Linked DNA regions of Homo sapiens: region 1 is linked to region 2. Evidence: promoter capture Hi-C in human tissues and cell types (Jung and others, 2019). All regions are on one chromosome and are shown on one strand. Each heading gives the region's core, a stretch centred on a gene start or on the middle of the fragment in contact. The rest is flanking DNA. Distances are from core to core; before and after follow the strand shown.

The links. The method cuts DNA at HindIII sites, captures the fragments that hold promoters and counts their contacts. A contact is called where the count stands out against the background at its distance.
Region 1: a fragment that was not itself captured here is called in contact with the fragment with the promoter of EIF2B1 in region 2 in 1 of the 25 tissues and cell types used here (mesendoderm cells).

What each region holds. Positions count from the first base shown.
Region 1 is chr12:123,410,677-123,417,521 of GRCh38, forward strand. It overlaps RILPL2 (Rab interacting lysosomal protein like 2), which reads right to left. Exons shown (of 4, transcript NM_145058.3): 4 at 4,363-5,245. The coding sequence ends at 5,215. Among named protein-coding and RNA genes, the nearest start is that of RILPL2, 23 kb to the right of the region's middle. The HindIII fragment of the contact is 7,685 bases long and covers 453-6,845 here.
Region 2 is chr12:123,629,805-123,636,813 of GRCh38, forward strand. It overlaps EIF2B1 (eukaryotic translation initiation factor 2B subunit alpha), which reads right to left and starts at 3,882. Exons shown (of 9, transcript NM_001414.4): 1 at 3,741-3,882; 2 at 2,541-2,642; 3 at 593-729; 4 at 365-481. The coding sequence starts at 3,753. It overlaps GTF2H3 (general transcription factor IIH subunit 3), which reads left to right and starts at 4,025. Exons shown (of 13, transcript NM_001516.5): 1 at 4,025-4,068. The coding sequence starts at 4,056. RefSeq lists an enhancer at 3,909-4,098. The HindIII fragment of the contact is 12,225 bases long and covers 1-7,009 here.

The DNA of each region.
Region 1 (6,845 bases), core at 3,045-5,544, 220 kb before region 2:
TGTACAGGGTGATTGTGAGGATTTAATGAGTTAATACAAAAAAAAAAAAAACAACACTTGGAACAGTGCCTTGCACATAGCCTTCAGTAATCAGTATTAGCTATTATTAGAATTAAAAATTTGGCTAGCTTCTATTCAGTGTTTACAAGTACTCAGGACTAATAGCTAATAAGTGCCTCCAAGTTCTGATATGTAGTTGCTATATTTATTTGTTCATTTTACTTTTTGTAGAGATAGGGTCTCACTATGTTGCCCAAGCTAGTCTCAAACCCCTGGCCTCAAGCGATCCTCATGCCTCACCCTCCCACAGGGCTGTGATTACAGGCATGCGTGAGCCACTGTGCCTGACTTATTTTTATTTATTTATTTATTTTTTTTTTGAGATGGAGTCTTGGTCTGTCTGTCGCCCAGGCTGGAGTGCAGTGGTGCAATCTCAGCTCACTGAAACCTCCACCTCCCGGGTTCAAGCGATTCTCCTGCCTCAACCTCCTGAGTAGCTAGGATTACAGGCGTGCATCACCACACCCAGCTAATTTTTGTATTTTTAGTAGAGACGAGGTTTCACCATGTTGGCCAGGCTGGTCTCCTGACCTCGTGATCTGCCCATCTCCCAAAGTGCTAGGATTACAGATGTGAGCCACCGCGCCCAGCCCTATTTGTTCATTGTAAAAGATGACTGCTGGCCAGGCACGGTAATCCCTGTAATCCCACCACTTTGGGAGGGCGAGGCAGGCGGATTATGAGGTCAGGAGCTGAGATCCTGCCACTGCACTCCGGCCTGGGCGACAGAGCGAGACTCTGTCTCAAATAAATAAAATAAAAGATGATTGCTACAGCAACCACCTCCTGTGCCTTCTGAGACTTGGCTTGAAAACCTTTTTTTTTTTTTTTTTTTTTTTGAGACGGAGTCTCATTCTGTCGCCCAGGCTGGAGTGCAGTGGCATGAACTCAGCTCACTGCAACCTCTGCCATCCAGGTTCAAGCAATTCCCCTGCCTTGGCCTCCTGAATAGCTAATTTTTGTATTTTTAGTAGAGACAGGGTTTCACCTTCTTGGCCAGGCTGGTCTCGAACTCCTGACCTTGTGATCCACCCACCTCGGCCTCCCAAAGTGCTAGGATTACAAGCATGAGCCACTGCACCCGGCGAAAACCTACTTCTGAGCCTGTTCCTCCCCGGTCTAGGTTTGTAGTTGGAATCCTGCAGTGTGAGAACCGCCAGAGCTCAGCTGACGTCACAGCTCTGTTACCTGTTGTCAAGCTAGGCCCATCTCTAGGAGAATCACCCCAAGGACTTATTTTCCAAAATGCCCACCTGCCAGCATCAGATTTTACCAAGAGTTGCAGTCCAAGCATTTCTCACCGTAACTTTTTTTAGTCTCCTGGGGTACCACAGCCACCCAGGCCATCTTAACCTTTCTTTCTGAGTGGGTTCTCTTACCCTATCTATCCCCACAGGGAGGCAGGGGAGCATTTATATATTTGGAGACAGGGTCTCACTCTGTCACCCAGGCTGGAGTGTAGTGGTGTGATCATAGCTCACTGCAGCCTCAAACTCCCGGGCTCAATTAATCTTCCCGCCTCAGCCTCCCCAGGAGCTGGGACTACAGGTGCTCACCACCATGCCTGGCTAATTTTTTGTTTTTTGTAAAGATAGGTTCTTACTATGTTGCCTAGGCTGGTCTCGAACTCCTGGGCTCAAGCAATCCTCTCACCTTGGCCTCCAAAAGTGCTGGAATTACAGGCTTGAACCACTATGCCTGGCCAGGGTTGCAGTGTTACACAGGGTTCTAGGGATTAGGAGCCCTGATCTAATGATGCTGTTGAGACAGTGTTCTGGACTAGACTCTTAAACACTACCAGCTCTTCCTGGAAGGCAGAGTGGTTGAAGCCTGTGTGTGGACTTTGTATCTGGGCTCAAGTCCTGCTTCTACCACTTTCTAGCTGAGGACCTTAGACAAGACTTTTCACCCATTATGCCTTAACCTCCTTGGGAGGACCCCAAGGACAATAGTGATACCCATCCCACAAAAGTATGTGAGACAGCATCGGAAAGGTACTTAGAATGATGCAGGCGAGGCATACAGTAAATTATTACTATTATTAGGACTTGCCAGTGACTCTGGACCCATAAAGCTTGGCAGCTCCGCGCCCGGGCCTTGGAATCAGGCCTGCATTTGCCTCCTGGGCAAGCTGCTTCCTAGCTCCACAGCCAGAGTTTCAGTTTCTAAACCTATAAACTGGCCGGGCACGGTGACTCACGCCTGTAATCCCAGCACTTTGGGAGGCCGAGGAGGGCGGATCATGAGGTCAGGAGTTCGAGACCAGCCTGGCCAATATGGTGAAACCCCGTCTCTACAAAAATACAAAAATTAACCCAGTGTGGTGGCATATACCTATAGTCCCAGCTAGTCGGGAGGCTGAGGCAGGAGCATCGCTTGAATCTGGGAGGCAGAGATTGCAGTGAACCCAGATGGTGCCACTGCACTCCAGCCTGGGCGATAGAGCAAGACTCCGTCCCCACCACCCCCCAAAAAAAAGCCGGGTGCGGTGGCTCACGCCTGTAATCCCAGTGTGTCCGGAATTGGTGGGTTCTTGGTCTCACTGACTTCAAGAATGAAGCCGCGGACCCTCGCGGTGAGTGTTACAGTTCTTAAAGGTGGCGTGTCCAGAGTTTGTTCCTTCTGATGTTCAGATGTGTTCGGAGTTTCTTCCTTCTGGTGGGTTCGTGATCTCGCTGGCTCAGGAGTGAAGCTGCAGACCTTCGTGGTGAGTGTTACAGCTCTTAAGGCGGCGCGTCTGGAGTTGCTCGTTCCTCCTGGTGGGCTCCTGGTCTCCCTAGCTTCAGGAGTGAAGCTGCAGACCTTCGGGGTGAGTATTACAGCTCATAAAAGCAGTGTGGACCCAAAGAGTAAGCAGTAGTAAGATTTATTGCAAAGAACAAAAGAACAAAGCTTCCACAATGCGGAAAGGAACCCGAGCGGGTTGCCACTGCTGCCTGGGGCAGCCTGCTTTTATTCTCTTATCTGGCCCCACCCACATCCTGCTGATTGGTAGAGCCAAGTGGTCTGTTTTGACAGGGCGCTGATTGGTGCGTTTACAATCCCTGATCTAGACACAAAGGTTCTCCACGTCCCCACCAGATTAGCTAGATACAGAGTGTGGACACAAAGGTTCTCCAAGGCCCCACCAGAGTAGCTAGATACAGAATGTCGATTGGTGCATTCACAAACCCTGAGCTAGACACAGGGTGCTGATTGGTGTGTTCACAAACCTTGAGCTAGATACAGAGTGCCGATTGGTGTATTTACAATCCCTGAGCTAGACACAAAGGTTCTCCACGTCCCCAGCAGACTCAGGAGCCCAGCTGGCTTCACCCAGTGGATCCCGCACCGGGGCTGCAGATGGAGCTGCCTGCCAGTCCCGTGCCCTGTGCCTGCACTCCTCAACCCTTGGGTCGTTGATGGGACTGGACACCATGGAGCAGGGGGTGGGGCTCGTGGAGGAGGCTTGGGCCGCACAGGAGCCCACGGAGGGGGTGGGAGGCTCAGGCATGGCGGGCTGCAGGTCCCGAGCCCTGCCCCACGGGAAGGCAGCTAAGGCCCGGCGAGAAATCGAGCGCAGCGCCGGTGGGCTGGCACTGCTGGGGGACCCAGCACACCCTCAGCAGCCGCTGGCCCGGGTGCTAAGCCCCTCATTGCCCGGAGCCGGCAGGGCCCGCCAGCTGCTCCGAGTGCGGGGCCCACCAAGCCCACGCCCACCCGGAACTCCAGCTGGCCCGCAAGCGCCCCGCGCAGCCCCGGTTCCCGCTCGCGCCTCTCCCTCCACACCTCCCTGCAAGCTGAGGGAGCGGGCTCCGGCCTTGGCCAGCCCAGAAAGGGGCTCCCACAGTGCAGCGGTGGGCTGAAGGGCTCCTCAAGTGCCGCCAAAGTGGGAGCCCAGGCAGAGGAGGCGCCGAGAGCGAGCGAGGGCTGTGAGGACTGCCAGCACGCTGTCACCTCTCACCAGCACTTTGGGAGGCTGAGGCGGGTGGATCACGAGGTCAGGAGATCGAGACCATCCTGGCTAACACGGCGAAACCCTGTCTCTACTAAAAATACAAAAAAATTAGACGAGTGTGGTGGCAAGTGCCTGTAGTCCCAGCTACTCAGGAGGCTGAGGCAAGAGAATGGCGTGAACGTAGGCAGCAGAGCTTGTAGTGAGCCGAGATCGTGCCACTGCACTCCAGACTGTGCGACAGAGCGAGAGACTCCGTCTCAAAAAAAAAAAAAAAAAAAATCTATAAACTGGTGCACCGGTACCGGTCCCCATCTCCCCAGGTTATGAGGAACAAATGAGATAATCCACAGAGCAGGCGAAACACATTGAGTAAGCCACTGTTATTTACTAAGAAGACAGGCTCACGGAATGGTTGCGGCAGCCTCATTAGTTCCTTTGCGAAGTGCAGACACCCGCTCTCTGTTTCATTGATTCCTAAATGCATTTTGTTCACATCTTAACACCTCTGAAATCAGGATGAGTCCTAAAATCGATAGCTTCTTAACATTTTAGTTTGCAGCAATCTTTCCCTTCATAGTGACACCAGATAATCGTGCATCGCTTAGACTGAATGAATGCAATTGATTCATTATACAATGAAATGTAGATATATGACATATACACACATATACCATGTGTACCATCGTAACTAAGAGACCACTCTAGATAAGCTATAGAAAGTATAAAAATCATTTTACTTTAATACAAAATCACATAAAGAAAGGCATGTTGGCTAAATCAAATATTCACTAAATATCAGTGAAGTCACCACTGGAATCTCAATAGCACATTTTCCTGCTTTCTTTTCTCCCTTCTGCTAACCATTGAAGACCAGGGTCATCCGTGGGAGCAGATGAGTAGGACACGCGTCTGCACGCTGGAGGCCCTGGGGGTTGACATGGGAGCAGGAAGTGGACCCCCCCACCCTGCACATCCCTTCTGTTTTTCTTGATTTCAGTCTCACTGGCCCAGGCCAAATCTTCAAGGGTGTCTAGTTCTGCAGCCAGGGAGAAAGTGATGCCAAGAGAACCTCGTCTCCTCCCTCCTCAGTCTGCTTTGAAGGGGAAATAAATACACAGGCCTAGTGTGTCTGTGTGGCACAGGGAGGTGGTTTTGCCAGGCATCTTGGAAGGTTGTCTTCTAGAATCAGAGCCATAGCCTTACTTGTGGCCTTGGATCTAGGTCTGTTTCCCCGATCGAAAAAAGAACCTGGTGTGGAGAGAGAGAGGGTTCAGGGTAAGCAGAAGGAACAAAGCAAGGGGCACAGCAACCCCCGTAAAATTTCTAAGTAGCTCTTGCAGCTGTTGACTCAAAAATATGTCCAGGCCAGGCATTGTGGCTCACGCCTGTAATCCTATGATTTTGGGAAGCTGAGGCAAGAGGATGAGGATCACTTGATCCCAGGAGTCTCAGACATGCCTGGGCAGCATAGTGAGACCCCATCTCTAAAAAAAAAAAAAAATTAACCAGGCGTGGTGGCATACACCTGTAATCCCAGCTACTCAGGAAGCTGAGGCAGGAGAATCGCTTGAACCCGGGACGCAGAGGTTGCAGTGAGCCGAGATTGCGCCACTGCACTCCAGCCTGGGCGACAGAGCAAGACACTATCTCAAAAGAAAAAGAAAAAGCAAAAAAACCCCAAAAAACCCGGGTGCGGTGGCTCATGCCTGTAATCCCAGCACTTTGGGAGACGGAGGCAGGCAGATCATGAGGTCAGGAGATCGAGACCATCCTGGCTCACACGGTGAAACCCCGTCTCTACTAAAAATACAAAAAATTAGCCGGGTGTGGTGGCGGGCGCCTGTAGTCCCAGCTGCCTCGGGAGGCTGAGGCAGGAGAATGGCATAAACCCGGGAGGCGGAGCTTGCAGTGAGCCAAGATGGTGCCACTGCACTCCAGCCTGGGTGACAGATTGAGACTCCGTCTCAAAAACAAAAACAAAAAAACACATTCATTCGTTCATTCATTCACTCATTGATTCTAGTAGCTCATTAAGTTTATCTGACCCTGAAAGGGTGGCCTCACGCTCATTAGCCACTAGCCACATGTCCTCAGGCTAGCTCATGCACAGAACACACATTTCACTTTTGCTCTATTAGGCTCAAACTCCAATTAGGTGTCCTAAGCTCCCGTAGAAGGACGCTGAAAGAAACCAGTAGTTTATGCCTTCTGGAAGCCTGATTTGCAACAAGACAGCCAATGAAAGTCCTAAATGAACACCTTCACTTCGGACACCTGGGTGGAGGTGCTCTTTCATTATCTTACCTCAGAAGACCCTTCCTTGTGGAAGAAACACTTCCATTAGGCTGGGTGCAGTGGCTTACACCCGTAATCCTAGCACATTGGGAGGCTGAGGCGGGCGGATTGCTTGAGCTCAGGAGTTCCAGACCAGCCTGAGAAACGTGGAGAAACCCCATCTTTACCAAAAATACAAAAATTAGCTGGGCATGATGGTGAACACCTGTGGTCCCAGCTACTCGGGAGGCTGAGGTGGGAGGATCGCTTGAAACTGGGAGGCGGAGGTTGCAGTGAGCTGAGATCAAGCTACCGCACACCAGCCTGGGTGACAGAGTGAGACCCCATCTCAAAAAAAAAAAAAGGAAAAAAGAAACACCCCCATTGGCCTTACTTTGACCCTGTCTCCCAACCCTTCTCCACAAGGCAACCAGAGTGAGCTTTTTGTACATAAATACGGTCATGTTACTCTCCAGCTTAAAACCATCCAATGTCTCTTCCCAACGTACCTAGAATAAAACCCACAGTCAGCACCAGAAAGAATCCACGTGGCCCTGGGTGACCCAGCCCCTCC
Region 2 (7,009 bases), core at 2,632-5,131:
TAAATAAATAAAATAAATCAAGAATCACACGTGCTGTCCCACTGTCCCTCTCTGCCTGTTTACAATGACAACCATCTCTAATAACAAGACCTACATTCATGCAGCACTTACTAAGTGCCAGGCACAATACCAAGCCCTCACACCCCTTGCCCCTTACATGTCTTGCCTCATTTAATCCTCACAACAACCCAAGGAGGTAGGTACTATTGTCATCCTTATTTAACAGATGAGAAAGCTGCACAGACAGGTTAAGTTACTTGTTCAAGTCTCCACAGCAAGTGAGTGGCAGAGCCCGGATTTTACCCCAGGCAGTCGGACTCGAAACCGTTGCTCCTCCTTACCACCATGATGATTATCCACTCACCGCTCCATCTTTGATGAAAGTATGGCACAGATCTGCAATTTTGTTTCTTGACAGTGATATTCTCCTGAGAAAAAGTTCTCCCCGCTCAATCATGATCTTTTTACATTTGGAGTAATCCTAGGAAGAAAAGAGCAAACTGAGGGGACAGGGAAGATCCAGTTAATGCTGAGAATGTCTGTCACTAAACAGAGAAGTGGAAAGGTAACCCCAGGGAGAACAGGCACTTACGGAGTATTCCAGGGAGGCAAGACTGATGAAGCGGAGGAAGAGCTCCCCGCCAGAGGACACTGCCACAGAGGAGTCCACACCACACAGGGTTTCTATGGCACTGGTGAGATTCGCCCTCAGACCCTGGATTGTCTCCCCTGGAATGATCCAACAAGGAATGTGATGTTCACATTAGGGCCACAGCCCCGACCTGTATCTTCAATTCATTCATTCATTCAGTGAATATTTACTAGGTACATACTATATACCAGGCACTATTCTAGATGCTAGGGATACATCAGTGAACAAGACAGGTAGGGTTCTGCTGTGATGGAGTTTTGATTGTAATAGAGGAAGCGGATAGTAAACAAGCACACATAGAAATAAAGCTGGGTGGCTGGGCATGGTGGCTCACGCCTGTAATCTCAGCACTTTGGGAGGCTGAGGCATGGAAAGACATTAAGTAGCAGCGGCAGATGAGGTCTGCAAGGTGGTATGGGTGAGGCTAAGGTTGTTTGGATGTTATTTTAAGAACAATGGGAAGACACTGGAGGTTGCCTTAAAGACATGTGTCTCTAGGCAAGCCCTTCAGATTAAAGGCTGCATTATTATTTTGCTTATACAAGATTTCATGCTATACCCAGATGCTTACATTTAGGGTGCTGAATTAGGGGATCACAATAAATAATACTAATACCAGAATTTATTCTGGAATATTCCCTGTAGCATCTGTACAGAATCTGGCACAAGGTGGAGGCCTAATAAACACTTATAAAGCTGAACTGCTACTGAAATTTACGCATCATGGTTAACACAATATAACATAGTCACTCTCGATTCAAAGTCTGTTTCACTTATGAAAGGGATCCTTTTCATGACAACGTAAGAGCTCTCTCCAGATTGAAAGGTCTGAAATGAAGGCAGAAGCTGAGCTTGGAGCTGTATTACTACTTTATGCAGGCAAACATGCATCTCTCACTTTCTACATTTCTAAGAGTCATTAGAAGACTTTCCTGGCCGAACATGGTGGCTCACGCCTGTAATCTCAGCACTTTGGGAGGGCGAGGCGGACGGATCACCTGAGGCTAGGAGTTTAAGACCACTGTGGCCAACATGGTGAAACCCTGTCTCTACTAAAAATAAAAAAATTTGGCCGGGCCCGGTGGCTCACGCCTGCAATCCCAGCACTTTGGGAGGCCGACATGGGCGGATCACGAGGTCAGGAGATCGAGACCATTCTGGCTAACAAAGTGAAACCCCGTCTCTACTAAAAATACAAAAAATTAGCTAGGCATGGTGGCGGGCGCCTGTAGTCCCAGCTACCTGGAGGCTGAGGCAGGAGAATGGCATGAACCTGGGAAGCGGAGCCTGCAGTGAGCCAAGATGGCACCACTGCACTCCAGCCCGGGTGACAGAGCGAGACTCCGTCTCAAAAAAAAAAAAAAAAATTTTGCCAGGCGTGGTGGTGCATGCCTGTAATCCCAGCTACTCAGAAGGCTGAGGCAGGAGAATCGCTTGAACTTGAGAGGCAGAGGTTGCAGTGAGCCGAGATTGTGCCATTGCACTCCAGCCTGGGAGACAAGAGCAAAACTCTGTCTCAAAAAAAACAAACGGCCGGGCACAGTGGCTCACACCTGTAATCCTAGCACTTTGGGAGGCCAAAGCGGGCAGATTGCCTAAGCTCAGGAGTTCGAGACCAGCCTGGGTAACATGGTGAAACCCTGTCTCTAAAATACAAAAAAATTAGCCGGACAAGGTGGTGCACACCTATAATCCCAGCTACTCAGGAGGCCAAGGCAGGAGAATTGCTTGAACCCAGGAGGCGGAGGTTGCAGTGAGCCAAGATCTCGCCACTGCACTCCAGCCTGGGTGACAGAGTGAGGCTCCGTCTCTTTAAAAAAAAAAAAAAAGAAAAGAAAAAAAAGACTATCCTAAGTCCCAGAGTGTTAACAGATGACTCTCTATATACCTTTATCTCTCTTCAAGAACTCCAGCAACGTCCGGATGGCAGCCACTGCTGAGGCCATGTCAGGATCTTCTTTCATCTGAGACTTAAAGTATTCAATTAACTCTGGAAAAAGGGAAAAAAGTGATTCACCTAATTCATTTAGCAGCCTATAAGGCAAGAGAGCTTGTTAATGACTGTTGACTTTAAGAAGCAAACAATTTAAAAAATACTTTCTTTTTAGGGTATTTGGTTTCAGGGATGCAATAAATGTTGATGGGAATAGAGAAAATACCACTTTGCTGTTTGCAAGAGCTCTTTTTTATTTTGAAAAAGCTACTGGTGGCCGGGCGCGGTGGCTCACGCCTGTAATCCCAGCACTTTGGGAGTCCGAGGCGGGCGGATCACGAGGTCAGGAGATCGAGACCATCCCGGCTAAAACGGTGAAACCCCGTCTCTACTAAAAATACAAAAAATTAGCCGGGCGTAGTGGCGGGCGCCTGTAGTCCCAGCTACTTGGGAGGCTGAGGCAGGAGAATGGCGTGAACCCGGGAGGCGGAGCTTGCAGTGAGCCGAGACTGCGCCACTGCACTCCAGCCTGGGTGACAGAGCGAGACTCCGTCTCAAAAAAAAAAAAAAAAAAGCTACTGGTGTGCAAGGCCTAAAAATTAAGCCCGAGTAAATGATGATGAAAAGTCATTCTCTCTTCAGCCTCTTTGGTCCTAAAATCTGAGAGGATCCCAGAGTCAACCATCTTGCCAATTTCTCCTGCACCCCTCCAGACAGTCTATGCTAATACATGTCTATTCACATACACATATATGTTACAAATATTATACATGGAGTTCCACCCACTCCCCTTTATTTCTTTACATGAAAAGTGTATTAGTTTGCCCTTGTTTTTCACTTAATAACCATACTAGATGAGCACATCAAATATGCCTTATTCATTCTAATTTTAATGACAGATCCAACAAGGCAGGAAGGAGACTGGCACTGGGAAGGAGCGTATGTGTGGGAGGGATGCCTGCAGATACTGCCAGGGCGCATCCCTGAAAACAAGAGCAGCGCGAGGGATTTAGTTGTGACTCTGGAAACACAACCAGCGGAGCAGCCTGAAATTCAAAAGAAATCTCTTCGGGAGCTCAGCCTGGATGTGAGAGGTTGGGGGGACCCCTGAACGGCGCTGCTGTAGCCTAGCAGCCCTGGCCTGTCTTGATTTACCCTTGTCGTCCATGGCGTCCTCCTGCTGCGGAGCCCCAGGGGACCCGAGCCGCCCGCGCTGTCTCGAACGGGTCCGCCGGCCGCGCCGCCTGCGAGCCAGTCTGACAGCGCGCTGCACACCTCCGCACCCCACTTCCGGCGCACTTCCGTACCCCTCTTCCGGCGCACTCCCCGCACTCCACTTCCGCAGATTAGGGGGCTGGCACGAGTCACAGCACCTCGTGCGTCACTTGGCGGCGCCGGACGTTGGGCTGCGCAGGATTTGAGACGCTCCCCTGACCACCACTTGCTCTGCGCTGAGGTGCTGGGACAGCCATGGTTTCAGACGGTGAGGACCCTGCAGGGCGGGACTTCGACTCCGGGGCTCGGCTGTCTCGGTCCGGCTACGACTGGCCAGATGGAATGTGTCTTTTGGGCTGGATAGAATCCGTTTGGTCTTTAGAGGAGTAGCCAAGGCATTCAGTCATTCATTCAGTAAATAGTTTTGGATCGCCTCCTGTGTACAGGCATTATTTTCTGGATTTTAGCAGAGATCGTGACAGACAGGGGCCTTAGTGGAGGTTACAGTCTACTGGGTGAAACAGATGACAATAAATAAAAATAATTTCGGCCGGGTCGCACCCCGGTGGATTAGGCCTGTAATCCCAGCACTTTGGGAGGCCGAGGAGGGAGAATCGCTTGAAGCCGGGAGTTCGAGACCTGCCTGGGCAACACAGCCAGACCCCATCTCTACAAAAAAAATGAAATATTAGCCGGGCGTGGTAGCGCGTGTCTGTGGTCCCAGCTACGCGGGAGGCTGAGGCGGGAGAATCACTTGAGCCCAGGAATTCGAGGCTTCAGTGAGCTATTATGGCAGTACTGCACCCAGCATGGCCGACAGGGCATGACCTCGTCAATAAAAAATTAAAAAATAAATTATTTTTCAAAGGATGAAAAGAGCTATGAAGATGATGTAACAGTACGGTCCTAGTTACAATAGTACATTGTGACTAGGATTGAGGAGGAGCTGTTTTAGATAGGGGCCTAGGAAAAGTGCAGGATATTGAAACCGACTTGAATGATTATGTGAAGTTCTGGGGGAAGTGCACTTTAAGTGCATGGGCCCTGTGGCAGATTGAGCCACCAAGTTACACTGAGAAGGGAGAAATGGAGAGCTTGCGGGTAGAGGATGGTGGGGAGACTCATTCATACATTAAACTACCACATACAGAGTCAGATGTCTTGAAGATTTAAAAGGAGGCTAGAGGGATGAGATCAGAGAACCAGCCAGTTTCAGGTCATGCAGGGCCTTATTGGCCGTGATAGAGAAGTTGGCCTTTATTTTTAGGTGCAATACAAAGACATTGTAGAGTTTTAAGCCAGAAAGTGTTATGATCTGGTTTGCAATTTTAAAAGATCACTGTGGCTGTTGTGTGGAAAATGGACTGTGGGGAGCAAGAATAGAGATAGGGGAGTCCTTTCAGGAACTGTAATAATTGTCCATCCTCTCTTAATTGATGTGAAACCATACCACAACCCTGTGAGGGAGGCAGGCCTGGCATTGCTCCTGTCTACAAATGAGGTAGCGAACTAAAGAAGGAAATTCACAGGGTCATTGCATGTGTATAGATGCACACCTTTCTTTACAGGCAACGCTTTTTCTGTCTGGCAGACACAGTTGTATTAAGTGCTTCTGTCCTAGGTGCTTTGTTGTGTGATTTACACATTTTTTTGTTTTGTTTTTCTATTAAAAAAGAAAAAAAGTGGCTGGGCACAGTGGCTCACGCCTGTAATCCCAGCATTTTGGAAGGCCAAGGTGGGTGGATCACTTGAGGTCGGGAGTTCGAGACCAGCCTGGCCAACATGGTGAAACCCCGTCTCTGCTCAAAATACAAAAAAATTAACCGGACAAGGTGGCGCACACCTATAATCCCAGCTACTCAGGAGGCTGAGGCAGGAAAATTGCTTGAACCCAGGAGGCAGAGGTTGCAGTGAGCCAAGATCGTGCCACTGCACTCCAGCTTGGGCGACAGAGCAAGTCTCCGTCGCAAAAAAAAAAAAAAAAAAAAGGTAGAGATAAGGTCTCACTGTTTTGCCCAGGCTGGTCTCAAACTCCTGGGCTGAAGCAATCTTCCTGCCTCGACCTCCCAAAGTGTTGGGATTACAGGCGTGAGCCACTACACCAGTTCTGATTTACACACATTATTTTATCCTAGGATTAGCAAATTCCATCATTTTTTAAGAAGTCCACAGTCTTAAGTGGGCAGGACTGGGACGAGAGATCAGAAGCACAACTAACTGTAAAATAAAATAGTAAGTGCTAAGTGTCATTAGAAGAGAGAGCTGTGGGTTGTCAGAGGTGGGCAGTGGGGCAGTGAAGAGCCACAGTCTTTATAGTCAAGCAGATCTGTCTTTAGAACAGGGCTTTGGCCTTGCCACTTGTTAGCAGGCCATATGTGACTTAGGACAAGTTACTTTCATTTGCAGAATACGAATACCATATATCATATTTCAGCTAATCTAAGATAATATTGATTATGAGATGTGCCCTTATTTAATATACCATTAAGAAAGAAAAAATGCTGCTAATCTTAATGATAAAGATACCATCCAGATGTCAACAACTATTCAATGTAAAAAACAAGGGGTGGGGGTCATCTTATAATTGATGAAAAATGGCAGGAAAATGTCCTTTGCTGGGTGGTTGTCAGGGTGGAATGGGATTTTGGGATTGCAGATTCCGGTGCTTAGTGCAGAGGAGGCTGGCATTCCTTCTGCTCTGAGATAGGGGAGTCATGAAGAAGAAAGAGTTTGCGCTGGTTTGGGGCTTTGAGGAGTAATTGGGATTTGAATACACAGAAATCAAAGATGGGGTAGAGATTCTCCTAATGTAGAAGACAGGACTGCAGGAAGCAAAGTACGGAGGGAGGAAAGGCATTACTGCTCTTTGCTATTAAATGAGCATCCTAGAGCCGGGCACGGCGGCACATGCCTGTAATCCCAACACTTTAGGAGGCTGAGGTGGGAGGATCACTTGAGCCCAGGAGTTCGAGACCAGCCTAGGCAACAAAGTGAGACCCTGTCTCTACAAAAATTTAAAAATTAGCCAAGTGGCTGGGTGTGGTGGCTCATGCCTGTAATCCCAGCACTTTGGGAGGCCAAGGCGGGCAGATCACCTGAGGTCGGGAGTTCGAGACCAGCCTAACCAACGTGGAGAAACTCTGTCTCTACTGAAAATACAAAATTAGCTGGGCGTGGTGGTGCATGCCTGTAATCCCGGCTACTCAGGA